Regions from separate parts of the Homo sapiens genome. Here regions 2 and 3 are each linked to region 1. Evidence: promoter capture Hi-C in 16 types of primary human blood cells and fetal thymus (Javierre and others, 2016). All regions are on one chromosome and are shown on one strand. Each heading gives the region's core, a stretch centred on a gene start or on the middle of the fragment in contact. The rest is flanking DNA. Distances are from core to core; before and after follow the strand shown. Region 1 holds the start of ADSS2 (adenylosuccinate synthase 2). Region 2 holds the start of TFB2M (transcription factor B2, mitochondrial). Region 3 holds the start of KMO (kynurenine 3-monooxygenase).

Region 1 (3,310 bases), core at 488-2,987:
CCAGTAGAGAGAGTACCAGAGTCAGCCCCCAGTCCAAGAGAACTGGGTGGCCGCTTGGGCAGGCTTCTGGATCCATTGCTGGAGGGGGGCCACTGAACCACGAGTAGGTAGCCACAAAGGCAATGCCAGACAAGCCCCCAAATTTGTAACCGCCCAAGGGGTTCACCTTGTCCACTGCCTAGACAGAGCCAATTCATCAAGACAGGCAAATGGCAATAGAGAAAGAGTAATTCATGTAGAGCTGGCTGTGCAGGAAACCAGAGTTTTATTATTACTCAAATCAGTCTCCCATAAATGATTTTAAAAAATTGAATGGAAATGACTAGTAAGGTGTGCTTATTCAGTATCTACTATCTGCCCAACACTACCTCGGGCATTTGACTAGAAAGAAATAGATGGCATTCTTGTTTCCAAAATGTTTGTGATCTTGTAATAAGGCCAAGATAGACAACAATTATCACATAGTATTATAATTGTTTACTAATCAATAGACCAAATAATTTGAATCCTTGAGGGCTGAATTGTATCTTTATTTCTCCTATGTTATCAGTGCCCAGGACACTTAGTTAGTTAATAGCAGGTTCTCAATGTTCCTGACTTAACTCATTGACTAGAAATAAAATACTAAAGTGTACTCTAGGGACCATTAGTGAACATACAGTATGTACAGGCGATTTGGGAGACGGTACATATAATGTGATTCCATTCCCACTTTTTTTCGAAGCACCTTTTATCAGAATTAAACATCATAGTTAATTTGTGTTGGTGTCGAAAGGGCATTAGATGAACAGTAGGTATACACCAGAATCTAGTTACAAATGTAACTGAGAGACAGTGGAATCTACAGGAAGGACATGGGCTCTGGACTTAGATTATCGAAGTACCAATTCAAGCCTCACTAGGGCAAGTTACCCAGCTTTTAAATCCTGTAAAATAAGGATAATAGAGGATCACCTACCTTATATGGTTGTGGGGATTAAAAAATAAAGAAGTGCATGACGGTATCTGCATATATGTACTATATGCGACATAGGTAATCCACTCCTCCTCTCTGAGCCTTTGTTACTACTATGTAAAATGAGGATTAGGACTTTATTTGATCTATTGATTTCAGGTCTCATGTCCTTTATCTTATTGCCTTACTTTTGAATTTTGTCTTTTTTGATCCCTGTCCCCATCTCTGTTACTTCCGGACTTTTAATTTCCAATTCTACACTTACACGTTCCGATTTTATGCTGTTTGTACTGCGAAATTCCACAGTTTGTATTTTGTACACATTCATTCCTTAATAAAGACAAATCCAGACAAACCTGCAGATGGCAGACACAGTGGCCCCAGAATACACCGCCGCAGCCCAGAGCGTTGCATGCTGGGATTTGTAGTCCGACGCTCCACACGCGCTTCCGCGCCTCTCCAGTTTGAAAGCGAGAGGTAGAGCGGGTAGGCGGGGTGCTGAAGGAGAAGCGCTCTCGAAGCCCCGCCCCTGACCTTTTCCGCTCGCGAGGTTTGCACGGGAGTGGCGCGCCAGGCCGCGGAAGGGGCGTGGCCTCGGTCCGGGGTGGCGGCCGTTGCCGCCACCAGGGCCTCTTCCTGCGGGCGGTGCTGCCGAGGCCGGCCTGCGCGGGGCAGTCATGGTACCCCCTTGAGCGGGCTGTGGCGGAGAGCGGGGCGGGGACTGGCTGGAGGGTGGCGGCCCGGCGGGGCGGGGGCGGGGCCGGCCTCTGGCTCCTTCTTCCTCTGCATGTGGCTGGCGGCCGCAGAGCAGTTCAGTTCGCTCACTCCTCGCCGGCCGCCTCTCCTTCGGGCTCTCCTCGCGTCACTGGAGCCATGGCGTTCGCCGAGACCTACCCGGCGGCATCCTCCCTGCCCAACGGCGATTGCGGCCGCCCCAGGGCGCGGCCCGGAGGAAACCGGGTGACGGTGGTGCTCGGTGCGCAGTGGGGCGACGAAGGCAAAGGGAAGGTGGTGGACCTGCTGGCGCAGGACGCCGACATCGTGTGCCGCTGCCAGGTGAGGCGACGGGGCCTCTCATGGGAAGCCGGGCCCGGGAGCTCGGGCTGCCTGGCTCCTGGTGCCCGGGAACTCGGACCCAGAACCCGGATCCACTGGCCAAAATGAGGTGTCACCTTGAGGCTCTCTCCTCCTGTCCTGAGCTGCGGCTACGTGGAGAAATGGCGGGAGGTCGGGGACCCCTGACCTGGAGCGTCGGGTGAAACTTGGGGTGGCCCTGGAGGAAGAGGTGGGCTGGCGGGGAGCCTTTGAGAGATGCGCGATGCCTGGCAGTTGCAGTTTTGCGTCTGGCGAGTGGTGCTCAGCGCCGGGACTGAGGCCGGGGTGGAGGTGGGATGCGGTCCGAGTTTGAGGAGCTACCGCCCGAGGCCTGCTCCCAACTCTTCCGACTGCGGGCGGAGACCCGGCGCGACGGCAGAACCCCCCATCACCGCCCCCCCGCCCCGCCCAGGGCGGCGGAGTGGGAGTGGATTGTTTCGAAACGTCCTGAAATCAGACTCACCGATCCCCCATCTGCAGGACCGTGGCATGCAGTGCTTTGCTTCCTCTGGTCCACTTTGTTGACATCCAAACCCACCCACCTCTGGGCTTTGGACTGTTGTTTTAGGGCCCTGAGTTTCTTGTTTTTGTTTTTGTTTTTACAGTGTGCTCCATACATGAAAGTTAAGGAGAAATTACTTTTACTAGTTGGTCCCAGAGGAAGGAATCCCTTCTCTGTTCAAAAAAAGTGAGGGAAGTAAATACATGGATGTCAAATTGAGTATTTGGAAATAAATATTTGCATTGTTAAGGTGACATCGAAAGTGAACTTTCGGAAAACGAGGTGGTAATGTACTTCTAACGGGAGACACGTGGTTTTCAGTGTAACCTTTCTTCCTATTTGTCGTTTCCTTTGACGCAGCATACAGGGTAAGGCCTTTGTAAAGGCTCTCAGATAACTCTCTCCAGTTTCAAAATTCTAAGCAGATGAGCAATAACCACTTTCAAAACAAAGCATAATGTAATATTTGAAGTTAACTGCTATCTGTTTAGGTTGCAAGAATATTTGTTTTTGAACATGCATGGCATGATATGATGGTGCCATGCTGTATATGTTCTAGTAAGTTATAGGCCCCCTTGAATACCATTTTGAGCATGCAGAAACAATGAAATCACAGGTATGTTAAAAAGCTAAATGCAAATACTGCAAATATTCTCTGATTTACCTTGTTTCGTTTTGTTTTGTTTTCATTTAGAAATCCACCCTGCCCATTCTGAAATAGCTGTTGCACTAATTGCCTCTTAGGAAACTGTCACTAC
Region 2 (3,173 bases), core at 333-2,832, 2.1 Mb before region 1:
AGCTCAGTAATGGAGAGAGGTTCAGAGGATGCAAAGTCACCTCTAGAAAATTGTCAGTGAGAAAACTGTACGAAAAAAGAATTTAAGCAAATTAAGACCAATGAGTGAGTCCCCACAGTTTGCACAACAGTTGATGAGATATTTTCTATGATGTCCTAACAAATTTATAATACACAAAAGGTCATATTTAGTTGTCAATTCTTTATCCGCTTGAGCTTCATCAGATGAGTATAATCTTCAGACTATTTGCTGGGTGATACATTCCTTAGGAACCTTTTCCTCGTGCATTTAAATGCCAAACTCAATTACACTCTCAGTAGAGTAAGCAGAAAGGATTGTACGTATTCTAAGACACGGAGTTGATTGGCTGCCGTTTCTTGCCTTGGTGGTAAGGATAATGGGTAAAAGCTCTAAGTTTGATCCTGAAACACGGAAAACACTCTCAAAGAACCGTGTCTTCTAACATTGCCCAATAGGTAAAAAAAAAAAGACTGCCAAAATTTCCATTACAGCATCCTATTTTTAGTCTTCAAAATTGGGTCTTTTAAATCGCATTCCACAGTACGATGTGTTTGACTAAGTTTACATAAGGAATACAGTAAGCATCCTAAAGTCTTAATCTTTTTAAGCTTAGAAAGGAATTGTAAGCTTTTACATCTTCATTTTTAATCTTAACTTTAAGTCTTTTAAACACACAAACTGAAAAAATTAAGGAAAATATTGGCCCAGAGAGAGGAATGGAAGGGAGACACCACGCGGTTCTTGACAACCAAAGTGGTAGTGATGGGGGGGACCAGGTGTGGGGGGGAAATGAAAACCATCCACGAGGGTGGGGAGAGCGGGCTGTGGGCCACACAACAGAAAGGAACGGAGACCGTGGAAGCCGCAGGCTCCTCCAGGAGCCGGGTGAGGAACGACTTCTGGCGCTAGTCCCCTAGGGAGGGAGAAATTGGCGCGACGCGCAGCAATAGGAGACCCACAGTAGCTGAGAAAGGAGAGGAAAACAGGCGACCTGAGAGGCGGAGGAGGTAAGGGGACCGGGCTACACCTCACCCGGAGGGCAGAGGCTGCGCGGCTGGAGGAGGACAGCGCAGGGGGAGGAGCGAGAGGCTTCCGAAAGGCTTTCCATCCCGGCCGCGAGCCGGCGGGTCCCCTGCATCCCGCTCCTCCTCTCCTCACCTGGGAATCGGAGGCGCAAGGAGGGCTACCGCTGGGCGCCGGGTCTGTTTCCAGCCCCACTCGGCGACATGGCGGCCGACGTGCTGTCACGGAGCTTGCTCGGGTCTCCCCTGGCTCCGGTGGAGGAGACACCTCTCGCCTTTCCGCCCCGCCTCCCTCTGCGCACCCCTCGCGGCTGGCCGGCTGGAGGCTGGCGGCCCGCGACCGCGGAGCATAGAGCACTGGCGGCTAGAGAGGAAGCGCAGAGCGCGGACAACCATAGAGTACGAGTCCGGACACCAGCCGGATGGTCGGTCGCTCTCCTCAACGGTCCACTCACAATCCTCGGGCGGCTGAGCCGAGGCGGAAGCGGAAGTGAGGGAGAAAAGCAGGAAGGCTCCGCTGTTCGCATGCGCAGGCTCTAGTGTTTACTTCCGCTTGACCTGGCCCGGACGCCAGAAAATGTTCCACGTGGGATACCCTGCGTGGGGTTCACTGTAGTAGCTGCACTAGGTGATTCTTGGAGCGGGCCTGAGAGACAAGGACATGTGGATCCCAGTGGTCGGGCTTCCTCGGCGGCTGAGGCTCTCCGCCTTGGCGGGCGCTGGTCGCTTTTGCATTTTAGGGTCTGAAGCGGCGACGCGAAAGCATTTGCCGGCGAGGAACCACTGTGGGCTCTCTGACTCCTCTCCGCAGCTGTGGCCCGAACCGGATTTCAGGAATCCGCCAAGGAAGGCGTCTAAGGCCAGCTTAGACTTTAAGCGTTACGTAACCGATCGGAGATTGGCTGAGACCCTGGCGCAAATCTATTTGGGAAAACCAAGTAGACCTCCACACCTACTGCTGGAGTGCAATCCAGGTGAGTCCAGCTGAATTGCATTTTCTTGGATGTTCATCATTTATTCAAACGTATTGACCCTCCTCGGGGTGCTATTTTAGATACTGGGGGGTCTTTTTTGTTGTTCTTTTGCTTTGAGACGGAGTCTCGCTGTGTTGCCAGGCTGGAGTGCAGTGGGGCGATCTCGGCTCCCTGCAACCTCCGCGTACCGGGTTCAGGCGATTCTCCTGCCTCAGCCTCCCGAGTAGCAAGAACTACAGGCGCGCGCCACCACGCCCAGCTAATTTTCTTATTTTTACTAGAGACGGGATTTCGCCGTGTTGGCCAGGATGGTCTCGATCTCTTGACCTCGTGATCCTCCCCCCTAGGTCTCCCAAAATGCTGGGATTAGAGGCGTGAGCCACTGCGCCCGTCCAGATACGGGTCTTTGTTTGAAGCTCCTTAGTTGGAGAGATTGCCCACTACATAAGCGTAGAGTCTGTATCGTTAATGACACCACAAAGTATTTCTGTAGCAGCTTGCACTTTACACAATATTTTGATAAAACATGCTCTTAGATCTTATCTCCCCAAAAGAGTTGCAAGCCTCTGCCAGCTGAAAAAATGATGTTATCTTATTCTTCCGTGCATTCCCTATAGACCATAGCAGGATGCTAAGAACACAAGATTTATAGGCTTTTTGAATGATAGTTTTTTAAAGCACCATTTCATATCACAGGGAGTCAGTTCTGTTTAGGCTTGACAATCTCTTTGATGGTTAAAGCATCCGTGTAGTCCGTGAGGAAGTGATAGGCTAGAGGCAATCTATTTTGCTGTGACTTTTTTCTTCTAAGAGGTAGTGAATCATGGTGATGAAGAGTGCAAGTTTTGACCTGGTGCGGTGGCTCACGCCTGTAATCCAGCACTTTCAGAGGCCGAGGCGAGTGGTTCCCTTGAGGTCAGGAGTTCCAGACCAGCCTGGCCAACATGGTGAAACTCCGTCTCTGCTTAAAATACAAAAATTAGCCGGGCGTGGTGGCGGGCGCCTGTAATCCCAGCTACTCGGGAGGCTGAGGCAGGAGAATCGCTTGAACCCAAGAGGCAGAGGTTGCAGTGAGCCGAGATTGCCCCACTGCACTCCAGCCTGGGTGACAGAGTGAGACTTCGTCTCAAAAAAAAAAAAAAAAGAGTGCAGGTTT
Region 3 (3,144 bases), core at 567-3,066, 2.9 Mb after region 1:
AGTCATTCTCCACATAATGGTCCAAGGGACCTTTTAAAATCACAACTTAATTTCCTGCCTAAAATCCTCCAATAGTTTCCCATTGTAATTTGAACAAAATCTGATCTTCTTGCCTGGACCTCTAAGATCCTACAAGATCTGGTCTGTCAGCTTTTCTGGCCTCATCAGCTACTCTTCTCTGGCCTCAGGCAGTTCCTGCCTTTCTTTCTGCTCCTTGAACTTGGGCAGCTCATTATTGCCTGAGGGTTTCTCTTCCTGCTGTTCCCTCTGCCTGAAATGCTCTTTCTCAAGATCTTCACGTAGTTAGTTCTATCTGATCATTCAGGTCTCTGGTCACATGTCCCTTCAGCAGAGCAGCTGTCCCTGACCACATTCTAAACAGGTACTCCCAAAGATACTCTCTACAGCACTACCCTGTTTTCGTTTCTTTCATAGTGCTTCTCTTTAACTGAAATTGTCTTATTTGTTTTCTTCTTCCTTGTCTTTTTCTTCTCTGGAATTCTCACCCTCGCATCCCTACTACCTAAAACAATATTGGTACATAGTAATCAGATTTTGTTGAACACATGAATTCTCATTTTGTGCAACATTTTGATAGGACAGATTGGACACAAGCCTAGTATGAAGCAGTGACGACACATGTCCCAACCAGTGACCAACACATCATGTGATAGCATTTCTAAATGAAAATTTAGAATCAGAAATATTAAAAGAACTGTTCTAGCACTTTGGGGAAAAGACACTAAGGAAGGCAGAACAAAAGACAGCATATACTGTATAAATACATGTGTGGCATAAAATATACCATCTATATTCAGCCTAGAACAGTGTTACGCCCTCAATAAATTTTTTGTTGAGTGGATATATGAATAATTAATGAAAAGTCTCCAAATGATTTGACCAAAGGTGATAGGGAAATGATTTAACCTTGACTAACTGGGATGTTTGTATTCTGAAACAGAAATTCTGCTGAGATGGGAAAAAGCAAAGTTGAATCGGAGCAGACCCATGTTAAACAGAACTACCTTTGGCACCATAACTATGAAAGCAGAGAGTGACCTCTCCTTCCGTCTTGTTAGGTATGGGGGAAGCCCCAGCACCTTTACGTCACGTGCTCAGTGAGAGGTGAACACCTCACTCCACTGTCTTAGGTGCTCCACTGGAAGAGTCAAGTAAGTCAGGCGACCACATAAATCTTATTCCCAATTACTCATATAACTAGTGAACATTCAACATGATACTTTGACGTTAGCTTCATGTTTCTTGACCCTTTTATTCTCATTAGACAGCATTAACTGAGTTATTAAACAAAGCGGAACAAATGTTTTTATTAAAATGAATATTGAGACTAATTCCTGTTCCTAAAAACATAGCCAATTTGGGGATAAAATCAAATTCAATTTGCATTATTTTTGCTTTTTAACAAATCCTAAACCAAAATGATGAGGGAAAACAGAAACCTTTGTATTTAATGGCTATAAAATACCTTTCCTGAAAAAGAACAGATTAAAACTCATACTATATTAAATCTATGAAAATAAAAATATTAAAAAAATAAACAAAATAGCTGTATTTAAATATCAGAGTTTTCACAAGAAAATTAACAATTTGCAGAAGTGACGAATAATAATCATTACGAGTAATAATAGTTAATATAATACCACCAACAATAGTAATCCATCTGAAAATTCTTACCAAGCCACCACCAATGACAGCTACTTTTTTCCTTTGAATGACAGATGAGTCCATAACTGCTGAAGTATTTTTCACAATTATTGTTGCTTCTGTCACTGAGTGACACTGATTTCTGTGTCTCCTACACACTGATTTCTCTGAGTTTTTATACTGCCCCAAGCCTAGTGCATTCATGAGCCAGCGGCAATGTTTAGTCAGGGCTAATTTCCCTTGACAGTATTAACCCATTAGTTGGCCAAAGTACAATCAGCTCAGCTCTAAGAAAAAATAAATCCATTACAATAACCAAATTTTTTAAAAAATCCATCCAATTGGAGACACTCTATTTTTTCTATCTTCTGTGTAAGACACAGAAATTTTTAAGCAGTCTTGTGGCTTTTCTTCTTCTTTTTCTACAGCATATATTCTTAGTTTCGTTTTCATTCATGATTAACCATGAATGGAGCCCTTCTCATCTGAAGTCCAAAAACATCTTATACCTCCCTTAGAGAGTAAGATGACATGGTTTCATAATTCATCTGTGGATCATTTTTGTGGTTAAGACCAATCAAAAATTTCATCTAAAGGGTCCTCATGGATTGTTTTTAACAGGCTCTACCAGGGAAAATTCTCTGCAAGGTCTTAATATTCTCCCGATCAACATTTTGAATTGTGTAACTGACCATACTTCCCCTTTTTTTTTTCAGCCCAGATGCTAGAAAATTTAGAATCTAATTTTAGAATCGAAAATTTAGAGTCTAATTACCACTAGGGGAGATGACTGACACAACGCTTCTGTAAACTCATTCCCGACTTCATATTATCTATTCACTTTTTTGTCTTTTTCACTCCGTTTTAAATGTTATACTTTTGTGCATGATTTGCGAATGGCAATTGTTTTCTGGAACATGATGTGGTGTAATGTAAAATAAGAACATAAATGAAGTTGTTTCTTCACTTCCTGTTAAGCACATAAAGAATTCAGAACGTTTTTTTCCCTGGTTAGGAACTAGAGTTAAATGGCATTCAATAGTGACCCCTTGTGGATAAGCATGATTAGGTATTTTATTTATTTTGAATAGGTAATACATTAACATGGCATGAAATTAAAGACACAAAAGAGTACACGGTGAATAGTAATCCTGCTAACCTTGACCCTTGGCCACCTATTCCTCCTGCCCAAAGACAACAACTGTTTTGGTGTGTGGGTTACCGTATTCTTCTACACGTTGATTATGTCTTTCTTGTTCTTCCTCTCTCTCCTTTTCTCTCTCTCTTTCTCTCACTCTCTCATTCCCTTCCTTCCTTTCTTTTTAAACATACATTTAAAAACTTTTTCCACATCATATTTCTCACTTTACAACATATAGCTTGAGAATTCTTCAATATCAATATGTAGAGAATATGTATCAATTCCTCAGTATCAATATGTATCATTGTTAAAAAATCTTTTAAAAATTATGAACTATA

Evidence for each region. Contacts are between HindIII fragments. The CHiCAGO score rates a contact against its expected background, and 5 or more counts as called.
Region 2: a contact is called between the fragment with the promoter of TFB2M here and the fragment with the promoter of ADSS2 in region 1, in 1 of 17 cell types (fetal thymus). The highest score is 5.3, in fetal thymus.
Region 3: a contact is called between the fragment with the promoter of KMO here and the fragment with the promoter of ADSS2 in region 1, in 1 of 17 cell types (activated CD4 T cells). The highest score is 5.2, in activated CD4 T cells.

Annotation. Positions count from the first base shown.
Region 1 is chr1:244,450,336-244,453,645 of GRCh38, reverse strand. ADSS2 (adenylosuccinate synthase 2) reads left to right here and starts at 1,737. Exons shown (of 13, transcript NM_001126.5): 1 at 1,737-2,011. The coding sequence starts at 1,829. It also overlaps a transcript of CATSPERE not described here. RefSeq lists silencers at 1,348-1,837, 2,278-2,557. The HindIII fragment of the contact is 6,677 bases long and covers 1-3,310 here.
Region 2 is chr1:246,564,670-246,567,842 of GRCh38, reverse strand. TFB2M (transcription factor B2, mitochondrial) reads left to right here and starts at 1,582. Exons shown (of 8, transcript NM_022366.3): 1 at 1,582-2,017. The coding sequence starts at 1,705. CNST (consortin, connexin sorting protein) reads right to left here and starts at 1,387. Exons shown (of 11, transcript NM_152609.3): 1 at 1,180-1,387. RefSeq lists enhancers at 783-1,282, 1,323-1,382, 1,613-1,892. The HindIII fragment of the contact is 6,532 bases long and covers 651-3,173 here.
Region 3 is chr1:241,531,050-241,534,193 of GRCh38, reverse strand. It overlaps KMO (kynurenine 3-monooxygenase), which reads right to left and starts at 1,816. Exons shown (of 15, transcript NM_003679.5): 1 at 1,696-1,816. The coding sequence starts at 1,749. RefSeq lists an enhancer at 2,084-2,233. The HindIII fragment of the contact is 7,761 bases long and covers 1-3,144 here.